2 separate regions of the Homo sapiens genome follow, and region 2 is linked to region 1. The links are contacts of gene promoters, found by promoter capture Hi-C in human tissues and cell types (Jung and others, 2019). All regions are on one chromosome and are shown on one strand. The core of a region is centred on a gene start or on the middle of the fragment in contact, and the rest is flanking DNA. Distances in the headings are between cores, read along the strand shown. Region 1 holds the start of FAM169A (family with sequence similarity 169 member A). Region 2 overlaps ANKRD31 (ankyrin repeat domain 31).

Region 1 (4,524 bases), core at 1,623-4,122:
AATGTGTTTTTCAAAAACTAACAGATTATAAAATTTTGCTTAGTATATACCAGAGGAAGTTTTTACAAGTTTTCTTTCTAACTTGTAAACTTGTAACTAGTTTTAATTCTTCCTTCCTGTCTGGGAAAATACTAGATCTAAGAAATTATTTAAACTTGAAAGTATAGGACATTTAGTATGTTTTAGGGCTTCAAAAGCAAAATCTATCCATATGGTATAGGATTTTGTGCACATTTAAGGCAGTATGGAATTCTGGTTAAGGGAGTGTGCTCTTGAGCCAACATGCTAGGATTACTATCTGTGTGACCATGGGCAAATTGCTTAGTTTCTCTGTGTGCCTCAAGACTCCTCTTAGGTAAACTGGGGGTAACAGTGTATACCTGCAAGGATGGTAAGAGGATTAAGTGAATTAATTTCCATAAAGAAGTCTGTAGAGTGCCTGGCAATTTGTTAGCTGTCAAAAACATCAGTTATGATTTTAGCTATTAAGAATTCCTCTTCCCCAGTGCAACTAAAGAGCTCTTTTCTGGGTCATGTGTATTAGTAACCTCCAAAATCCAGGGTTGTGGCAAGCTTCTTTTACTTAAGATGGTTCCACTCCTCTTTAAACATAGAGGAAAAATACAATCAGAACGAACTCTTAACATGTTTCCTTTGCTAATAACAAAGTAATAATTAAAGCAAGCATTGCAAAAACAAAAACCAAAGCAATAATCCTTTTACTCTAAAAACGGTTCAGAAAAAAGCCTCAAAGCATATTTCAAAATATTGTGGTAACAATTTTCAGCATATACTAATCTGACAAAGGCTCATGTTTTTAGTTGTTGTTCTTTGCCCACTAAGATAAGCAAAATTTATCTCAGCCAAAGAGGGAAGTCAATGGTGATTTAAAAAGAAAAAACCAAAAACTCTCAAAAATAGTGTCATTTGCAAGTAGGGAAAAGAGAATCAGGCCTGGCGCAGTGGCTCACGCCTGTAATCCCAGCACTTTGGGAGGCCGAGGCGGGCGGATCGCTTGAGCTCAGAAGTTCAGGACCAGCCTGGGCAGCATGGCGAAACTCCGTCTCTACAAAAATTAGCGAGGTGCGTTGGTGTGCACCTCTGTCCCAGCTCTTCCGGAGGCTGACGCCGGAGAATCGCTTGAGCTTGGGAGGCAGAGGTTGCAGTGAGTCGAGATCGCGCCATTGCATTCCAGCCTGCCTAGGCTGTGGGAGTGAAACCCTGTCTCAAAAAAAAAAAAAAAAAAAAAAAAAAAAATTGGACCTTTTCTTTTATAGGTCTGGGTGAATGTAGTTCTGTCTCCTACCAGAATAGCCAGACATCTGGGAGCCAGGCCTCCCTGACCCAGGCACAAATACCCGCATACTTCTAAAACAATAGCTAAGAGTCAATCACACCCAGGCATTTCAAATATTATCAACAAGTTGTATTGGTTAGCTTTACACTAAGGCCTGAGGCTTCAACATCTGTAGGGCATAGTCTGGTAGCCAAAGCTTCCCCAAATGGCAATTGTTTGGGATTACCCTGGGGACTCCTACTTACACATAGCTCTAGAAATGTAAATACAAGTCATATAATTTCATTCATCACTGGCTATGGGTAGAACCCAACTACCCAAAATTCCTGCTCTATTAAATCTAATTCATTAAGTTTCATTAAAATGGTAAATGATGTGTAATAGTAAAGATTTTGGCTAATTAAATATTATACAAATGAAACAATAGATTCTTATATGGCAGAAAAGCTTTTTTTAAAAATCAGGGTCAAATATATCTATATCAACAAGCATTCTTTGAAGTATTTTTTGATCTTGCTAATTTTGCTAATCATTAGTAAATTCGTGAAAGTTGGTATTGTGATTGCTAAATATTTCCCAGGAATGAAAGAAGCAATTTTCAACTTTTCTGGATGAGCTGAACATAATACTACGGTTCTTGGATGATGAGTAAAAGAAAGTCTTGACATTAATACTTAGATACAATATTGTTTCTCAATACAGTTATTAAATATATTTAGACTACAATACGCATTACCTTAAAGACAATTTATCATGTTTTAAATGCTGGAGGGCTAATTTTCAGTAGGAGTGTGTAATTAGCAAAGGCGCCAGAGGCCATAAGACGGTAGAATAGAGCTGGGAGAGGCACGGGAGGAAAGCCGGATGGAACCCTGTTGTCTTTCTGGGTCAGGGTTATTCTGTACCGGTTAAACGGTGAAAGAGAAAAGGTCAGCGCAGGAATGTGGTATTTCCCTGACATCTCCAGATGAAAGTCCGGGCTCTAGGACTTCTGTAGACTGTGAAAGCAGCCCACGATTCTAACTTGCATGCACCTAAGTGGCAGTAGGTTTAGGATGAAAGTGGTGGGGCGGAGGCCGGCGGTCCTCGCCCGTGCCCTCTGCACCCCTGTCCCGAGGCCGGGATGGCCGCGCCCACTCTGGGTAAATTTCAGGAGGGCCTACGCGGGGCTGGAGAACTCCACCGGGCTATGCGAACAGAATCCTGCGAAGGTCGGCATTAAAGGAATACGCAAAATCAGCGTTGCAGCCCCCGCGGCTTAACCGCATCTATTTTTATATCTAAGCCAAGGTCACTCTTTAATACCAGGCCATTGCCCTGAGCTGGGCGTCGCGCTGCCGGGTGACGGCGGCCGGGGCGGAGAGAGGGGGCGCGGGTGGCGAGGCGGGGGCCGCGTGACGCCCCCGGGCTGGCCAAGCCCGCACCTGCCGGGCCGGCGCCTGAAAGCCGGGGCTGGAGGGAGGCAGGGCGGCGTCCCAGGCTCCGAGGAGGGGCCGCTCCGCGCTGGCGGGCGGGGGGATTCGCGGTGGGCGCGGGCGCGGAGCGGAAGCGAAGGCTGGAGGCGCTGCGGCGCTAGTGCGTCACGTCGTCGGAGGGCACGGTGGGCCGCGGCCGACCCGCGACGAGGAGCCGGGCGTCCGGGGCGAGCGGGAGGCAGCCGCACTCGCCCTGGCAGCCGCGAGCTGTGCGGCCTGGGACCGGCCGGAGGTCGCCAGCGAGCAGCCGCCGGCTCCATTCATTCGCGCGGCTCCGCCTCCTTTCCCGGGCTCTTCCAGCGGCTCCCGGGGCGCGTCTGAGGTGAGTGCGCTCCCTCTCCCCGGCGCGGACCGCTGGGTGAGGCCGAGACGGCCGCGCCGGGCCCCGCGCCCCCGCCAGCACCAGACCCGCGGACACCGAGCGGCGACGCGGGCCACCGGCTGTGGGCGGCCCCTGCGGGCTGGGCCTGGCGCAGACCAGTGCGGGCCGCCTGGACCCGGGGCTCGCGTCCAGCTGGCGGCGGTCTGCGGGGATCCCGTAGGGCGTGTGGCGCCCCCAGGTGCGCCGGCCTCCGCCTCGGCGCCACCATTTTGTGTGAGGGAATGCCCGTCTTCGCTCGCCTCCGCCGCGGGCCGGTTCGCAGCTGCGGCTTGCCGCCCCCTCCCCTCGCCCTCTCCCCACCTGGATGCTTGGCGTGCGAGCTGATTGCTTTGGCTTGGGGAGACGCGGACTCGGGGAGGTGTGGAACTTCAGCGTTTAGACTCGGTTCACCCGACCAGGTGGCCTCCAGAGATGCTCTGACCGCCTTCCTTTACCTGTAACTACTTTTGGAACAGATATTGTATGATTCTCCCTCCTCTGGAATGCTGGTCGTTGCAGTTTTGTCCTAATTGTGTTCTCAGCTCTCCATTATGCCATTTTTCAAGAGGCCTGTGCCTCAGGAGGTGAAGCCTTGAACCCTGGGTGGTTTATGGCTCGGGGGTCTGGATTACACTGACTCCCATGACTGTCCTTGGGGAGAAAGGATGAAGCATCTCACTGGCTTTTCAGCGTCTGGGAAGCGGCGTGGGTATCGTATCGGGTGGATTCGAAGATAACCACCTGATGCAGGTCACCTTCCCCCGCTGGGAGAGCCGTTCCTAACGTAAATTAAAACGTGTGTACGGGTTTTTGGGGGATTGGGACCGGAGGGACATATTTCTAAAAAATTTCCAGAAGGGAAAGTTTTCATTGTGATTCTCACAGAACTGTGACACAATTTGTCATTTTCAAGGTTCCTGAGAATTTGGGAATTCTTTTAATTCGTTGGCTTCTTGCGAATTACTACTTACGAACTGAGCAGATTATACCCAAGCCATTTATATTTTGTCATTGCATCACAGACAGGGATTACAATCGGGAGTGCTGGCTGTTGCATAATGCACACATTTGGGCCCTGGAGGGAATTCACCGAAGTGGATCTGGGTTTGGTGTGCCATGCGTTTTTATTTTTTACACAGGATGTACAGATGATCTTTGCAAACTACGTCCCTTATCGTGCTATAAAGTGTTTACAAGAGGAAAGATTTTTATTGACTAGTATGGACCAGACTAAAATTTTTAGTGTTTTAGTTTTGCTTGTTTTGGAGGAAAGGCAAGGAATGAGATGGTGAGAGGCACCTGGGAAAAGTCCGTTTATCCTAACACTTGAAGCGCAAACAAAGATAAAACATGATCGTCTTTCACAGAAATCTTGTAGCTATTATAGTGGA
Region 2 (4,846 bases), core at 1,452-3,951, 300 kb before region 1:
TTTGACCTTTTTGCATTTATTGAGAATTGATTATTGCATAATATATTATCTCCTTTGTTGAATATCCCAGGTGCACTTGAATGTTTATTCTTTAGTTGGATGTAATGTTTTATAAATTTCAGCTAGGTAAAGGTGTTGATAATGTTGTTCAGCTGTTCTATATCTTTATTGATTTTATGTCTCATTGATCCATTTTTTTTTAGAGAGATGTTAAAATCCTCATAAATGTGATTGTGGAATTGTCTGTTTCTTTCTTTGATTCTGGCAGTTTTTGCTCCTTATATTTTGAAGCTCTGTTATTAGATACATAACGTTATGATTGTCATGTCTTGTGATAAATTAGCTCTTTCATCACCATGAAATGTCTGTCTTTATTGCTTGGTAATATACTTTATCTTGAACTCTACTATATATAATATTAATATAGACATCTAGCCTTCTTATGTTTACTGCTTATTTACGATATGTTTTTCTATCCTTTTACTGTATCTTTTTCTATCCTTTTATTTTCAACCTATCTGTGTCTTTATATTTAAAGCATGTTTCTTAAGAAGGGAACAGTAGACACTGGGGACTACTTATGGGAGGAGGAAGGGAGTGGGGCATGGGTTGAAAAACTATCTATTGGGTACTATGCACACTACCTGGGTGATGGGATCATTTGTACACCAAACCTCAGTGACACACAATTTACCCATTTAAAAAATCTGCACATGTACAACCTTAACCTAAAAGAAAAGTTGGAACAAAAATAAACTATGTTTCTTGTAAACAGCAGACAGTTTTGCTTTTTTTATTCATTCAGACAGTCTTACCTTTTAATTGAAAATTAGCATGATTAGTCAATTTACATTTAACATAAATGGTTGGATTTAGGTCTGCCATTTTACTAATTGTTTTCTATGTGCTTAATCTGTATTTTGTTTCTTTCTTTGTCTTTGCAGTATTTTTTCATAGTTACTCTAGGGATTAAGTGTACACCTCTAATGTTTCACAGTTATCTTTGAATTAATATTATAATACTTCATATGAAATATGAGGACATTGAATACATATAGTCCATTTATTCCCCCATATCCGTTGTGCTATAGCTATCATATATATCTACAGACATAAATTTTATAACTTTTGCTTTAAACAAGCCATATTCATTTTAAGGAAATTTATAGGGAAAAAACCTTGTTAACTATATATTTACCATTTTGGGGTCTCTTCATTTCTTCGTCAAAACTCAGTAATAATACTATAGGAGAAACTTCTTCCCTGAGGCAGTGGTTCTCAACTGGAGTGCTTTTGCTCCCACCCCCTCCCCAGGGGACTTTTGGCAGTTTCTGGAAACATGTTTAGTTGTTAGAACTAGGATAGGAGTTTCTACTATCATCTGGTGGGTTGAGGCCAGGGATGCTGGTAAACATTCTGTGATACTCATAAAAACTAAGAAACATAAGCTGAGATTCGTAATCCCTATTTTATGATGAGTGTTCTGAGAAGAGCTAGTGAAAGTCTCTTTTGACGTGCAACTTTAAAGTTTTCTTACATCTGTCATATGATTTACTGGAATTTAATAAATATCTGTAACTTATACCATTGTCCTTGGCCAACAAAGAAAAAGAATATTTGCCTGTATGACTGGTTTTCTTGGAGCAGTTTGTGGTTTGTTAAACTACTATAAATAGCTTTTTGTAAAGAAGGAGAAAAAATGAATATATCCTTTTGAACTGAGTGATATGTAGTCCAGCCAGCTGGATACTTTAATGGAAGTACCTTGAACTAGAAATAAAGCTTTTCTCCCCTCATCTCTGCAGAAAAGCAGCCTGCAACCAGCATTCACTTTGAGTTGATAATGACTCCTGCACAGCCTATTTATTTGGAGAGGTCAAGATTACTTTCAAATATTTTGTTTCTTTTCACATTTTTGCACAGCAGAGTTGAGGGGTAGGAGTTTGATTTGTCCTTCAGGTTTATTGAACCTACCAAATAATACAGTGTGCTTTCAGGTGATACTATCTTGACTCATATAATCAAAATATTTTTGAAGAAAGAACTTAGAATCAAAGTTGTTTTTTAAGGGCAAGCACAAAACATTATTAAGATGCCAAATGTAAACAAATGCCGTATCTTTTTGTATGATAGGTTGGACAGCACTTCATGAAGCTAGTGTAGGAGGATTTTATCGGACAGCAAGTGAACTATTAAAAGGTGGAGCAGATGTAAATATCAAAGGATTATACCAGATTACTCCCCTACATGATGCAGTGATGAATGGACATTATAAGGTACTGTGATGCTTTTATTTGCAGAACAAATACTATATTTTGCAAATATTAAATATCTCTGGGACCACACAATAGAAAAACATACAGAAATTTTAGTTTAATTTCATTCTGCTAATGAATACTTAGAATTTATAATGAAATTTTACTGTGTGATGGGTTTGTTGTGTGTAATATGATAGGTGTCATTTTACATGTTACTTTTAATAACCATATAGAGCTTTTTGGTTACATAGTATTTTTTTTCAACTTGTTTTCCTTTAAAACTCCTTTAATATGGTGCTTTATAGGGTTTAGAAGAATGTTTCCTTCTTATAGAGTGTTACGCAGTTATGTCCAGTCCTGATAGGAGGTTTACAGCTTTATGGAGTCTGGTGTCACTTTCATAATCAGCCTGAGGCAGGATAATGTTTCTGATCAGTTCAGCTTAATGATCAGCCAGGATATATCAGCAGGTTAAAATATCAGACTACTATAATTGCATACCAGTTGGTTAATAGTAACTGCAATAAATGGTAACATTAAGATTATGAATTCTAGTATACATGGTTTATCTCAGAAACCATATTTATTTTAGCTTACTACACATTTTTTCTGGCCCTGGGACAACATTGCAAGGCTGAGGCACTTGCTGAAGATATCTTGTTATTCATTTCAGTTACTGAAAGTTGCCTCTGGGTTTAAAAACTTCTAGGATGGGAAAGGGTATTAACTATCTGGGATTAAGAAGATTTGTTCTGCCTATTTACAGAAGAAATGCCTAACACAGGCAGAGGCGGAGAAGGCTGCTGGGAGCCATGGGAATAGACAGGGCATATTCCTTCATAGTATGAAACAGTACTTCAGAAGGGTTTAGGCAGTTTTTTTTGTTGTTTGTTTTTCATTGTTTGTTTGCTTGTTTGATAATGTATATCTTGGTGATGGGTGGTCATTTTTGCATATAGTTTAGAGGACTAGGAGGAGAGAATTCTTCCCAGGATCCAGTTTAATGGCCAGAAGAATGCAGGCTTGGACATGTGACAGTGTGAATCCTTTCTCTGTCAGAAGCAGAGAAACCTCACGCCAAAGCACTTCTTCTGTCTAACACCATAGCCCATTTGCTCCCTCACTTCCCAGAGCTGACCTATACTGATCAAGAGTCTTTTCTTCCTTTGAGTAAAGTGAGCCCTGAGCATTTTAATTTTTCTTCTTTTCTTTCCTATTTGTTCCTTTGCCCCACTTCGAACTTGGCTCTAATCCATTTCTGCCTCACAGTCTAGCATTGGCTGTCTCCTATTTGGCCTTTGCATATATGAAATAATCTCTGGTTCCTTCAATGATGTTAAAGGAACCAAAGACACAGGCCTCTATTCCCAGAATCCAGTTTCCCCACTTACTGCATTCCCTCTTGCAATCCTCCAATCTGCCTGTGGTTCATATGCTCTTGGCACCATGGCATATCCTGACTAGTGGTGAGAGAAGAGAATGACAAGACAGGAGTGGAAGTCTAGAGAAAAGTCATGAAAATTAAAAGTTGAAACCAGTAGTTGGTGTGATGTCAGGCAAAGATGATCAGAGAAATGGCCTAGGCCCTGGGTATTGGATTGCTGAAATGCCTTTGGTGTCACAGGAGTAAAGATGTAAAACAGGGAAGCCTTGGGAACCCAATGCTGGTCCTACTACCTGGGGAGTGTGAGCTTCTTTAAGCATTCTGGAGTGTTGAAGGAACTAGAATATATTATCTTACAGGTCTTAATTGTTTTATGGGAGAGATACTAAAAGATAATATCCTATTTTCTAAAAGTGAAAAAGCAGTAAAAAAAAAAAATCCACATCTTACCATTCCATTAATTTGAAATATCCGTAATAGTCAAATCTATAGAGACAGATTAGAGATGGGGGGTCTAGAGGGTGGGGAATGGTGAGTGACAACTAATGGTTAAAGGGTTTCTTTTAGGGGGAATGAAAATGTTCCAAAATTAGATTGTGGTGAGGGTTATACAACCCTTTTAATATACTAAAAAACAATGAATTATATTCTTTAAATAGGTAGACTGTGTGGCATGTGAATTACATCTTAATAAAACTGTTAATAAATACATTTTTTAAAGAGTGGAAAAGTTAGAATTTGAGAATTACAAATGATCAGCTCAATGTTGTTCCTTAGAAAATGTGCAAAAAGTTATTAAATATATGGTTGGAAGACATAGGCAAGAATGTAGTGCTCTTTGGGAATCATAGGCATCACTAAGAACAAGTCATGCCAGACTAACCTTTATTTCTCTTTTATTAGGTTTACCTTGTTAGTAGGTAAAGGTAATGGCATTGAAATAAGCTATCAAAACTTTAACAAAGTTTTTATTTGAAGTATCCTGTAATCTGTGAGTGTATGGGATGTTGAAATGAAGGGGTTTGTTGGCATTGATTTGGGGATTCACATATATTGAAAGAATAGGCCTCAGACATGGTGATTATTCATTTTATGTGTGTCTACAGTGAACCCTTTTTTGTTTTTGTTTTTGTTTTTGTTTTAGACAAGAGTTTCCCCCTATCACCCAGGCTGGAGTGTAGTGGCGTGATCTCGGTTCACTGCC

What was found. The method cuts DNA at HindIII sites, captures the fragments that hold promoters and counts their contacts. A contact is called where the count stands out against the background at its distance.
Region 2: a fragment that was not itself captured here is called in contact with the fragment with the promoter of FAM169A in region 1 in 2 of the 25 tissues and cell types used here (H1 embryonic stem cells and aorta).

The regions. Positions count from the first base shown.
Region 1 is chr5:74,864,735-74,869,258 of GRCh38, reverse strand. FAM169A (family with sequence similarity 169 member A) reads left to right here and starts at 2,872. Exons shown (of 13, transcript NM_001376049.1): 1 at 2,872-3,094. It overlaps FAM169A-AS1 (FAM169A antisense RNA 1), which reads right to left and starts at 3,366. Exons shown (of 1, transcript NR_134288.1): 1 at 1,984-3,366. RefSeq lists silencers at 2,936-3,185, 3,256-3,425. The HindIII fragment of the contact is 6,065 bases long and covers 1,034-4,524 here.
Region 2 is chr5:75,166,409-75,171,254 of GRCh38, reverse strand. ANKRD31 (ankyrin repeat domain 31) reads left to right here. Exons shown (of 26, transcript NM_001372053.1): 11 at 2,134-2,276. Among named protein-coding and RNA genes, the nearest start is that of ANKRD31, 68 kb to the left of the region's middle. The HindIII fragment of the contact is 3,856 bases long and covers 774-4,629 here.